Linked DNA regions of Homo sapiens: region 2 is linked to region 1. Evidence: promoter capture Hi-C in human tissues and cell types (Jung and others, 2019). All regions are on one chromosome and are shown on one strand. Each heading gives the region's core, a stretch centred on a gene start or on the middle of the fragment in contact. The rest is flanking DNA. Distances are from core to core; before and after follow the strand shown. Region 1 holds the start of MRPS28 (mitochondrial ribosomal protein S28). Region 2 has its middle 5.1 kb from the start of STMN2.

Region 1 (4,826 bases), core at 1,343-3,842:
GAGTAAAGGGGTTCACGTAAACTTCAAATGCTTCAAAGCTAAGAACTTGCTGAACGGAGACTACAACACAGCCTCCTGATATCCTCCTCCCCAGGGAATTTTATTTCCATTAAACCAAGATGTCAAAGACTTGTGAATAAGAAATTGGTGAACTGTACATCACAACCAAACACATTTACCCATCATCTAGTAGAATAATGTTTTCTAAACTGTGTTAGACGGAGAACAACCACGCAGGGTGCAGAGATGCTGCTGAGCCTGAGCTGGACTGAGAAAATCTAACGGATGTGCTGGGACTGCCAGGAAACACCCCAGCCTCCTCCTGGAAAAACTGAACAGCCCAATTAGAACTGCCTTGGAAAGGAAAGGAAAGAGAAAAGGAAAGGAAAGGGAATTCTGGGGACTCTAAAACACCTTGGTTGTTTCCTTCATTAAATAAACAGTACATTTTTAGTTTCAAACACTTAACTTACTATACATGTGATGCTACAATTTTCACTCTTACCACAGTTAACTCAGCAATTGAGAATTATTTTGGGGGGTTTCCGAAGGGGCTTAGAATGTGGTATGAATGGGAGCGAAGCGTGAGTGAGAAATATTAGGTAAGAAATAGAAAAACTCCTTTCCTATACATATATTTGGAAGGGAGCACTGAACTCTATGTTTCCAACCTTACTGCACTTAACTCTTATGGCCTTACCTTAAGGATGGATCTAAAATCCATCCCTTAGGTGGCTTCAGGTCAATCATCGCTATTCTGCTAGTATTTTATGACTTCTCCATATATGGTAGAAAGAATAATGCCCCCTCCCCCTACAAAGACATCCACATCCTAATCTCTAGAATTTGTGAATATGTTACCTTCCGTGGCAAAGGAGAATTAACTTTGCAGGTGGAATTAAGATTGCTAATCAGCTGATCTTAAAATAGATTATCTAGGGAGGCCAATGTAATCACAGGGATCTCAAAAGCAGAAGACGGGCGGGGGGGGCGGGGCCGGGCGGGGTCAGCCAGGCCAGGTGGCTCACATCTGTCATCTGTAATCCCAGCACTTTGGGAGGCCAACGCAGGAGGATCACTTGAACCCAGGAGTTCAAGACCAGCCTGGGCAACATGGCAAAACCCCATCTCTACAAAAAAAAACAGAAAAAACAATTAGCCCAGAGTGGTGGTGCACACCTGCGGTCCCAGCTATGAAGCAGGAGGATCACTTGAGCCCAGGGGGTTTAGCAGTGAACTGAGATCATGCCACCACACTCCAGCGTGGGTGACAGAGCGAGACCCTGTCTCAAAAAACAACAAAACAAACAAAAAAATCCAAAAAACAAAAAAGTAGAAAACAGAGGCAGAAAAGACAGGCCAGGAAGAGATTCTCCTAGAAGCTACGGAAAAGAACACAACTTCACCAACACCTTGATTTTAGACCAGTGAGATCCCGTCTGACTTCTCACAACCCTAACAACAACACATTTCCTGTGTTTTACGCCACTAAATTTGTAGTAATTTGTTACAACAGAAAATAATAAACTAATATACCAGGCTTCTTCTAGTCCTTGGATTTCAGAAAAATTTTGACATCAGTAATTGCTACTAAAATGACCCTATAACCCAGGACACTGCCAGTCTTGTGAACTGTTTGGTACTACTCCCTAGGAAGAAAAATACAGAAATTGAGAGTTTATTTGTATATAATTCAATTTCATGTCTGCTGAGTTTAATTATTAAAAACTTAGGCTTGTAATTTTATTTCTTCCATTTCATTTATCTATAAATTTATGGTATTTTACAAAAGTACTGGCTGAGACAAACGGAGATTTTACTTTACTTTTTAAAAAAAGAAGACATTTACAAAAGAGAGGTGAAGCGCTGACAAGTTAAATCACTTGCCCAAGTTCAGAAAGTGATTCATCACCCAGTCATTAAATTAACAAATGTTTATGAAGGGCCTTCTACTCCAGACAGCAAGCTCCATGCTAGAGCTACTGTTCAGAACAAGACCCAGCAGAGCCCTGCCTCTCCGTGTGAGTCCCATTCTCCTTAGCGTCCCAGGAATCGCCCTAGATCGCCTCCCCAGCAGCGCTCCCCGCTGGTTACCTTCCCACCAGCATTCAATCCCAGGAAAACAAGCGCAGTGTGGACAGACCCGGCCCAGTACGCAAATGCCACACAAAAGGACAACGAAAGGAAGAAAAACACCAAGCACAGATTCTAGGGGCCGAGGGCTGAGCCACAACGCACCGCAACTCCGGAAAACTGGGCCCCGGACCTCAGCTCCCCTTCCTAAGCCAGGCTCCGCCCCTATTCCCGACCCCGCCCACCGCGTCGTTGGCGTAATTCCCGCGACTCCCTCTCACCCGCCCGGGCTCCACCTTCTGTAGGGGCTCCACCTTCTGTAGAAGCTCCGAGTGCCGCTCCAACGCGCTCGCGAAACCGCCTGCGCGCGTCTTAGGCTCCTTGGCATTGGAACTACCACTTTCGGATCCACTCTCAGTGCCTACACCCCGAAAGGGCCTGAAGAAGAGAAACACTCGCAGAAAATGGCTCTCGGCAGCCACAGCACGGGTCCGACACAGCGCCGCCATGACTTCTTTACCTCTGACCTTTGACCTCCCCTCCGCAAGCGCGCGGGTCACGGGGCGGAGCTATGAGAGGTCCGCCCCCCGGACGCAGAGCTCTGGAGGCCAACGAGGCGTGTCTTCCTTTCATCTGGGAGTGGCGTGGGGAAGAAGAGACTTAAGCTAAAATTGGTGGGCTAAATAGTTGGAAAGGGGCCTGGTTAAGTTTTGCGTTAGAAGTGCGTTTAACTTGCAGGAATTTCGCCTTCCTGGGCATCCGTTGGACCCCATTGTACTGTAAATTCTGCTAACGCGACGCTCGTTCTCCCGCCCTGCCGTCCCCCCTACATGGCCGCCAGCACTCGAGTTTGGGGTCTTCACTCAAATATGAGGGTCTCCTTGATTACCCTATTTAGAAGTGGAAGCCCAAATGCAGACTCTCTGGCACCTGTTTTTCTTAGTACCATGTAGCACTTTCTAATATGCCACATATTAATATTAAATATTTAATAATATTTAGTGTCTACTCCCAACTTTTTAAACTTTGAAAAGAGGAACTTTGCTGTAGGGTCCCTAGCACCAGGCACAGATTAGGGCTCACCCAACATTTGCCAAACCCTGCATCCAAGTTTGTCCTTTGCCACTTCTGCAGCCAGTCCACTCACGCCACAAAAATAGTTTTTCTGAAATGTTTTGACACCTCTAGATACCTATTATCTAACTTAGGAGTTCAGAAGTTTTGGAATGTCCCTAAGTATTGCACCGCCGTAGGCCCCCACCCTCACTCTGGATTTTCTTTCCCTTTTCTCCTGCAGTGTTAATTCCCAAAATTTACCCACCCTGTTCAAAACAGCCTAACATCATTCTTAAGTGTTTATTAATTAGTTGTCCGTCTATCTTTGACCCAGCAGTTTAATATTAATCCACAGTTAGTTTTATTTTGGGGGCACACACCTTTCCAGTTCATTTGCAAGTACTTCGAGAGAAAGAATTTTTATGATCACAGACCCTATTTTAAGAATGCCTTGACTATGGGTTTTAAGCTTTTCTGATGCTCTCTAATGGTACAGATAGTGTTAAGAACACGAAGTACACTGATCTCAGAATGGTGCACAATTGTATGAATCACATAAAATTATTACTAGCTAACTGTATGGTAGTCCTTACAAATTCATTAAATTCTCCAGGTGAGTTCTCCCTCTTGGCAGTTAAAACTGTTTATCTCCCGAGACTATTAATGGACTCTTGCCTAGAACATTATTTTCTACGGATAGTGCTACTTCCACTTTTTTTCAGGAGAAAGTGTGGTAAATTGTAAAGAGCATGGCCAGTGGTCTTCAAGAACCCTCAGTCTGACTGGGCAGGGTGGCTTACACTTGTAATCCCAGCACTTTGTGAGGTTGAGGAGGGAGGATTGCTTGAGATGAGGAGTCCGAGACCAGCTTGGGCCATAGCAAGAACCAGTCTCTACCAAAAAATAGAAAAATCAGCCTGGGGCAGTGGTGCATGCCTGTAGTCCCGGCTACTTGGGAGGCTGATGGAGGAGGATCACTTGAGCCCAGGAGTTTGAGGCTGCAGTGAGCTATGTTCCTGCCACTTCACTCCAGCATGGGTGAAAAGTGCAAAACTCAAGTATCCGTAAAAACACACCCCTGGCGTGGTGGCTCACACCTGTAATCCCAGCACTTTGGGAGGCCAAGGAGGGCAGATCACCTGAAGTCAGGAGTTCGAGATCAGCCTGGCCAACATGGTGAAACCCTGTCTCTACTAAAAATACAAAAATTAGCTGGGCGTGATGACACATGGCTGTAATCCCATCCACTCAGGAGGCTGAGGCAGGAGAATCACTTGAACCCAGGAGGTGGAGGTTGCAGTGAGCCAAGATCACACCACTGTTCTCCAGCCTGGGTGACAGAGCGAGACTCCAGCTCAAAAAAAAAAAAAAAAAAAAAAAATGAGTAAGTTTGTATCAAATGACTTCAAATTTGGCCTTAGTTCTGTCTTTGGTAGAGGATCAGAAGCATCAAATGAGAGGGACTGTAAAGAACTGAACAAGTCAATAGGGGGATGTCCGCATAACTTTCTCCTTGCCTATACAAGTGCCAAGAGTAGCATCCTCTGTAATAGTGATGTTTTCACATACGCCATCTTAAGGATTCTGATCCTGCTGTAACCACTCCTTGCTTTATTAAATACAGGCCTGGCTGGGCAGCAGTGCACACCTTTAGTCTCAGCTACTCGGGAAGCTGAGGAGGGAACATCGCTTGAGCC
Region 2 (4,826 bases), core at 1,728-4,227, 420 kb before region 1:
TACATTTAGGTGGCAACTGATACCAACTGATTATTTTCATGTCCCTTCTATATTCACCCAAAAGATTATTTTTCCTATTTAATTAGATAGGCCTCTCATGCTAATGACATCAAAATGTGACCTATTCTTTGTCCAGATCATCTTTGTAAGGACTAAAAAAAAAATTCTACTATTTCTCATATTTTGTGGGGAGCCTGACATGGTAACTTACCAGAAAATATGCAAGACACCAAATATCAGTAGTGTTTTTTCTTTAGACTGAAATGTGTGATCCTCATTTTATAACTAGGACCAAAAAACAAATAAAGCAGCTCAAGTTTGAGAAGTCCAACCAACCAGCATAAATGTATTGGCTAGACTAATCTAGCTAATAAAATTTTTCCTGACTATTTACAGGTCAACCATCTATTGAGTCAATACAGTAACCAATACCTGGATAAACACTTCAGGAAAAGTGGAACCATTAATTTGATTTTTTTAAAAAAAGCATAAATAAGGTTGCCCAAACTGATCCATGGGACTTGTTCTCCTAGTTGGTTATAGGCCATTTCAAAACTAAATACAAGATGGGATTTCAAACGTTTCTTTTGACATTTATAATGGTCCTCATTTTCTTCTGAATGAGATGCAATTACTTTAAAAATTACTATAGTGCCATTATGCTAGGCTGACACTCAGCTATATCTGAATCCATATAGGCTGCTATGACAAAAATACCACAAACTCTTTAGCTTTTAGACAACAGAAATTTATTTCTCACAGTTCCGAAGGCTAAGAACTCCAAGATCAAGGTGCTGGCAGATTTGATTGCTGGCGAGGGCTCGTCTTCTGGCTCATACATGGCACCTTCTAGCTGTATCCTCACTTGTGATAGGAGCCAAGGCAGCTCTCTGGGGTCTTTTGTATAAGGTCACTAATCCCACTCATAAGTCACCCCCGCTCACGACTTTATCATCTCCCAAAGGTGCCACCTCCTAGTACCATCACCTTGGAGGTTAGGATTTCAGCATATGAATTTGAGTGGGGACATAAATATTCAGTTCATTACAATTCTGCATCAAAAAGACTGAAGCTATCACAGCTCACTCAGCAGACTTTGGCTAAAAGAGGAACAACTTTACTGTAGTAGAGAAATGGTGCACTCCTAGCTTAACTAAGGTGAAGGGCTCAGCAGAAGTCCAGCAGAGTTCAACAGCAGCCACACCTAGAAATAAAACATCACTTTCTGTCACTTTTAGTAACAAGATTTCTCCAAAGCCTCATAAATAAAGTTGCCTTCTGTGATAACTGCCAGTCTGCTTTGGGGAAAATGCTCTCCCTGATAGGTTTTAATTAATCAGCTTGCCCATAGACAAAAAACAATATTTCACTGTTCCTCAGGCTGCTGTAGGTTTTGTTTTTATAAATCCCCCCTTGTCTGGTTTCATGACTGATCTCCAGCACATGTGAATAGATATCAGCCATGCTTTTAATTAAACTGAGTTATTCTTTGGTGAGATGGTCCTGAATTTAATCAAGCTTCAAAATTGACTTTCATTTACAGAGGACAGGAACAAGTTAAGTGACCACATTGGAAGCAAAGAGTCACATCCAAAATGTAAGAAAGTTCATAGGACAATTGACCCAGTTTCTACAAAAAGCCAATGGTGGGAATTTTAAAAATGAAGGGAGGATTGTACCAGATTAAAAGAGATTTGAGAAACATAAAAGTGAATAGAATATGCGGACCATATTTGGGTCCTGTTTTAAACAAAGCAACAGTATTCTTGAGACAATCATGAAAATGTGATTATAATTGTTAAGTATTTTAACAGAATTGTATTTATGTAAGAAAGGTTCATGTTTTATAGAGATACATACTTAACTACAAAGAGTGAATTTAAATGATTGTCGTGACTTCCTTTTAAAGTTTTCAGCAAAGATGAAAAAGGAAAAAGAAACAGAAGCAATAAAGTTTTGGTAATTTCTTAACTTGACTAATACAAGTTCATTATTTGCTTTCTTGTGTCCATTTGAAATAGTTTATGACAAAAATATAAGTACAATATTTTTATATTTTGATGTAAATATTCAAGCTATTGAAATCCTCTTTCCAAAAGAGGACGTTTCCTGCGCATTCTAAATAAACCCAAATAACACATCTGCAAATCTCTGGGCAATTTCTTTTCTGCCTCAAAAGGCAGCATTTGCCGCCTAACTGCACATTGCTCTGTTTTTGCTGAACTGAACTAAAAAGATAGGTGTAGTTCAGGAAGTGATCAAACCAAAAACAGAAAAATCCATTAAATATGTGACGAGAGGAAAAAAAAGAGTGGAATGGGGTTTTGTTGTCTCTAGTTGAGTTCAAGTTTAATGTGTTTTTTTTCTTTTTTTTTTTTTTTTTTTTTTTTTTTGGAAACGGAGTCTCGCTCTGTCGCCCAGGCTGGAGTGCAGTGGCATGATCTCGGCTCACTGCAAGCTCCGCCTCCCGGGTTCAAGCCATTCTCCTGCCTCAGCTTCTGGAGTAGCTGGGACTACAGGAGCCTGCCACTATGCCCGGCTAATTTTTTCTATTTTTTAGTAGAGACGGGGTTTCACCATGTTAGCCAGGATGGTCTCGATCTCCTGACCTCGTGATCCACCCGCCTCGGCCTCCCAAAGTGCTGGGATTACAGGCGTGAGCCACCGCACCCGGCCGAGTTCAAGTCTAATGTTACTGTCAAAGTAAATATTTGATGAAATTGATTTTTAAAAATACTACCTACATCCGTTAATTCAATTCCATTTGATAACACAGCAGGATGTGGGTGGGGGAAGTTCAGAGGGTCAGAAAATTAGTTAATAAATGACTAATGAGAAAATCTCCCAGGAAGGCAGTATACTAAAATGCTTTTGCTTTTCTCTTCCCTAAATCCTCCTCCTCCTCTTTTCAGCTTGATTTAGAAAAATAAGGTTCTTAGGCAACTGTTATTGTATGTATAATGCAATGCTCACAGTAGGGGTTCTGTTTAAAAAATAAAATAAATTGAGGCTTGTGGGATAAACAGAGTGAGTCACACTTCTCCCAGATTTCTCTTCCAGGCACTTCAGTGTTGTCTCCACTGTTTGGTTTGTAAACTAAGATGCTGAGTGAAATCTCAAGGGGAACCAACTTCCCAGCTTCAATGGTGTCCAACTAATGTTCTCCCTGGACTCAAGCTGTAAATCAACTCATGGAGAGAAGGAAAAAGTTAGTTACAGTAATTGCTGCCAAGATAGCGAGTAGTTTTCAACATTATCAATTTAATGTAAAGATTCAGCTCATTAAATTTATATCAAGCCTTTCTTATGATTAGAACAAGTTTATTTCCAGAAAAGTTCAATTATAAAACTATCAATAGGATTTACTAATTTCAATAAGTCATTTTGCTTCAGGGTGAATTATACTAATTATTAATACATACAAGTCCCATTTGGACATAAAGAAAACCCTAGGTAGAGAAAAAATAATAATAATTAACTAATCATTGTTTATTTTTAAATAACTAATTTAAGAAGAAAACAATGAAGTGTGTTTGTTCCACACTTCAGAAATAACTCTAACACACTGGCAAATTCCTGAGCAATACAGAGCTCACTGCTAATAAAGAACACCAACTCTCCCTCCTTGGAATGACTTTCCTTTTGAATAAACCATATTAGACAGTTCTATTAAAGGACACATGATCCTTTTTATTTTTCATTAATCTATAAGAATTTAAACATGGCAAAATAATCAAAATGTTAAAAAGTCAACTATTTTTTCATGTGTGATTATTTTAGATGCATCTCTAAATATCTTCAGCTATAACTACTTTATATCCTAAATTTCTAAACATCTAAAAAAATTCAATGGATTTTATCTCTCACATTTCTTTTGTAATCACCTGAGGTCAGATCAAAACAATTAATTTGACCTTAACAATGTTTCTCTTATCTCACTAACTTTTAATAATTACTTTAGGATTCTTTCCCAGGCACTTGATTATGAATAGCAGAAAATCATATGACTGTGTTAGATGGCATCAGCTAATCCTCCAAAGCAACTGCTTCTCTCTGGTTTGGAAAGAAATCAACACCTCAGGCCTCCTCACAGAGATAATACACACTAGGCTATAACCCACAATAATTAAAATTTCTGTTAGCAAGTCTGTGATTTCCACAGCTCCAGCTTACTGCTGGCTGTTAAAGATAACAAAAATTAACAAGGGCCATCTACTATTGTGAGCTCTACTCATTTAGGTTCTTTGGGAATAGGGCAGGATATAAATAAATAAACACTGGTAAACAGCCTAATACCTGCTCCCAACACAAGCTAAGCAAAGGAGGTTAGAAGTGTCAATATGGTCTCACTGGATTCATCCATTTTGAATCATTTTCAACACTGTATTATTTATTATTTCACAAATTGTTTTTAACTGTCTACCACGTGAATCATGAAACCAACCACTAGGAAGGGTATAAAGATATACACTATTCATTCTCTACCTTTCAAAGGTTTAAATGTATTGGAAACACTAAATATAGTCATAGTACTTAAAATTACTATATATCCATGATGGCTTAGACAGTTCATACATGATAACCCTTCAGTCTACCCAAATCCCCACACGACAGATACTGGTTGTCCTTAGTTTATACTGTGCAAATGTAGTACCTATTCTTTGAGTGTCCACCCATTCCCATCAAAACCATTTCCTTCAGGAAAAGCTGATCTCACCTCCAGACCTCTAGGGCCAACTCTATCTATATGGTTAGACGAAACAGCAAATGCACTTTTATTATTAGTGCCAGTTTGGGTTATTTTTTCAAATTTTTGCAACAAAGTG

What was found. Contacts are between HindIII fragments. The study calls those that stand out against the background at their distance.
Region 2: a fragment that was not itself captured here is called in contact with the fragment with the promoter of MRPS28 in region 1 in 1 of the 25 tissues and cell types used here (lymphoblastoid cells).

The regions. Positions count from the first base shown.
Region 1 is chr8:80,027,667-80,032,492 of GRCh38, forward strand. It overlaps MRPS28 (mitochondrial ribosomal protein S28), which reads right to left and starts at 2,593. Exons shown (of 3, transcript NM_014018.3): 1 at 2,370-2,593. The coding sequence starts at 2,582. All of the region lies in intron 5 of TPD52-MRPS28 (TPD52-MRPS28 readthrough), which reads right to left. It also overlaps a transcript of TPD52 not described here. RefSeq lists an enhancer at 2,316-2,745. The HindIII fragment of the contact is 9,025 bases long and covers 1-4,826 here.
Region 2 is chr8:79,603,653-79,608,478 of GRCh38, forward strand. No RefSeq gene overlaps it. Among named protein-coding and RNA genes, the nearest start is that of STMN2, 5.1 kb to the right of the region's middle. The HindIII fragment of the contact is 6,050 bases long and covers 1-4,826 here.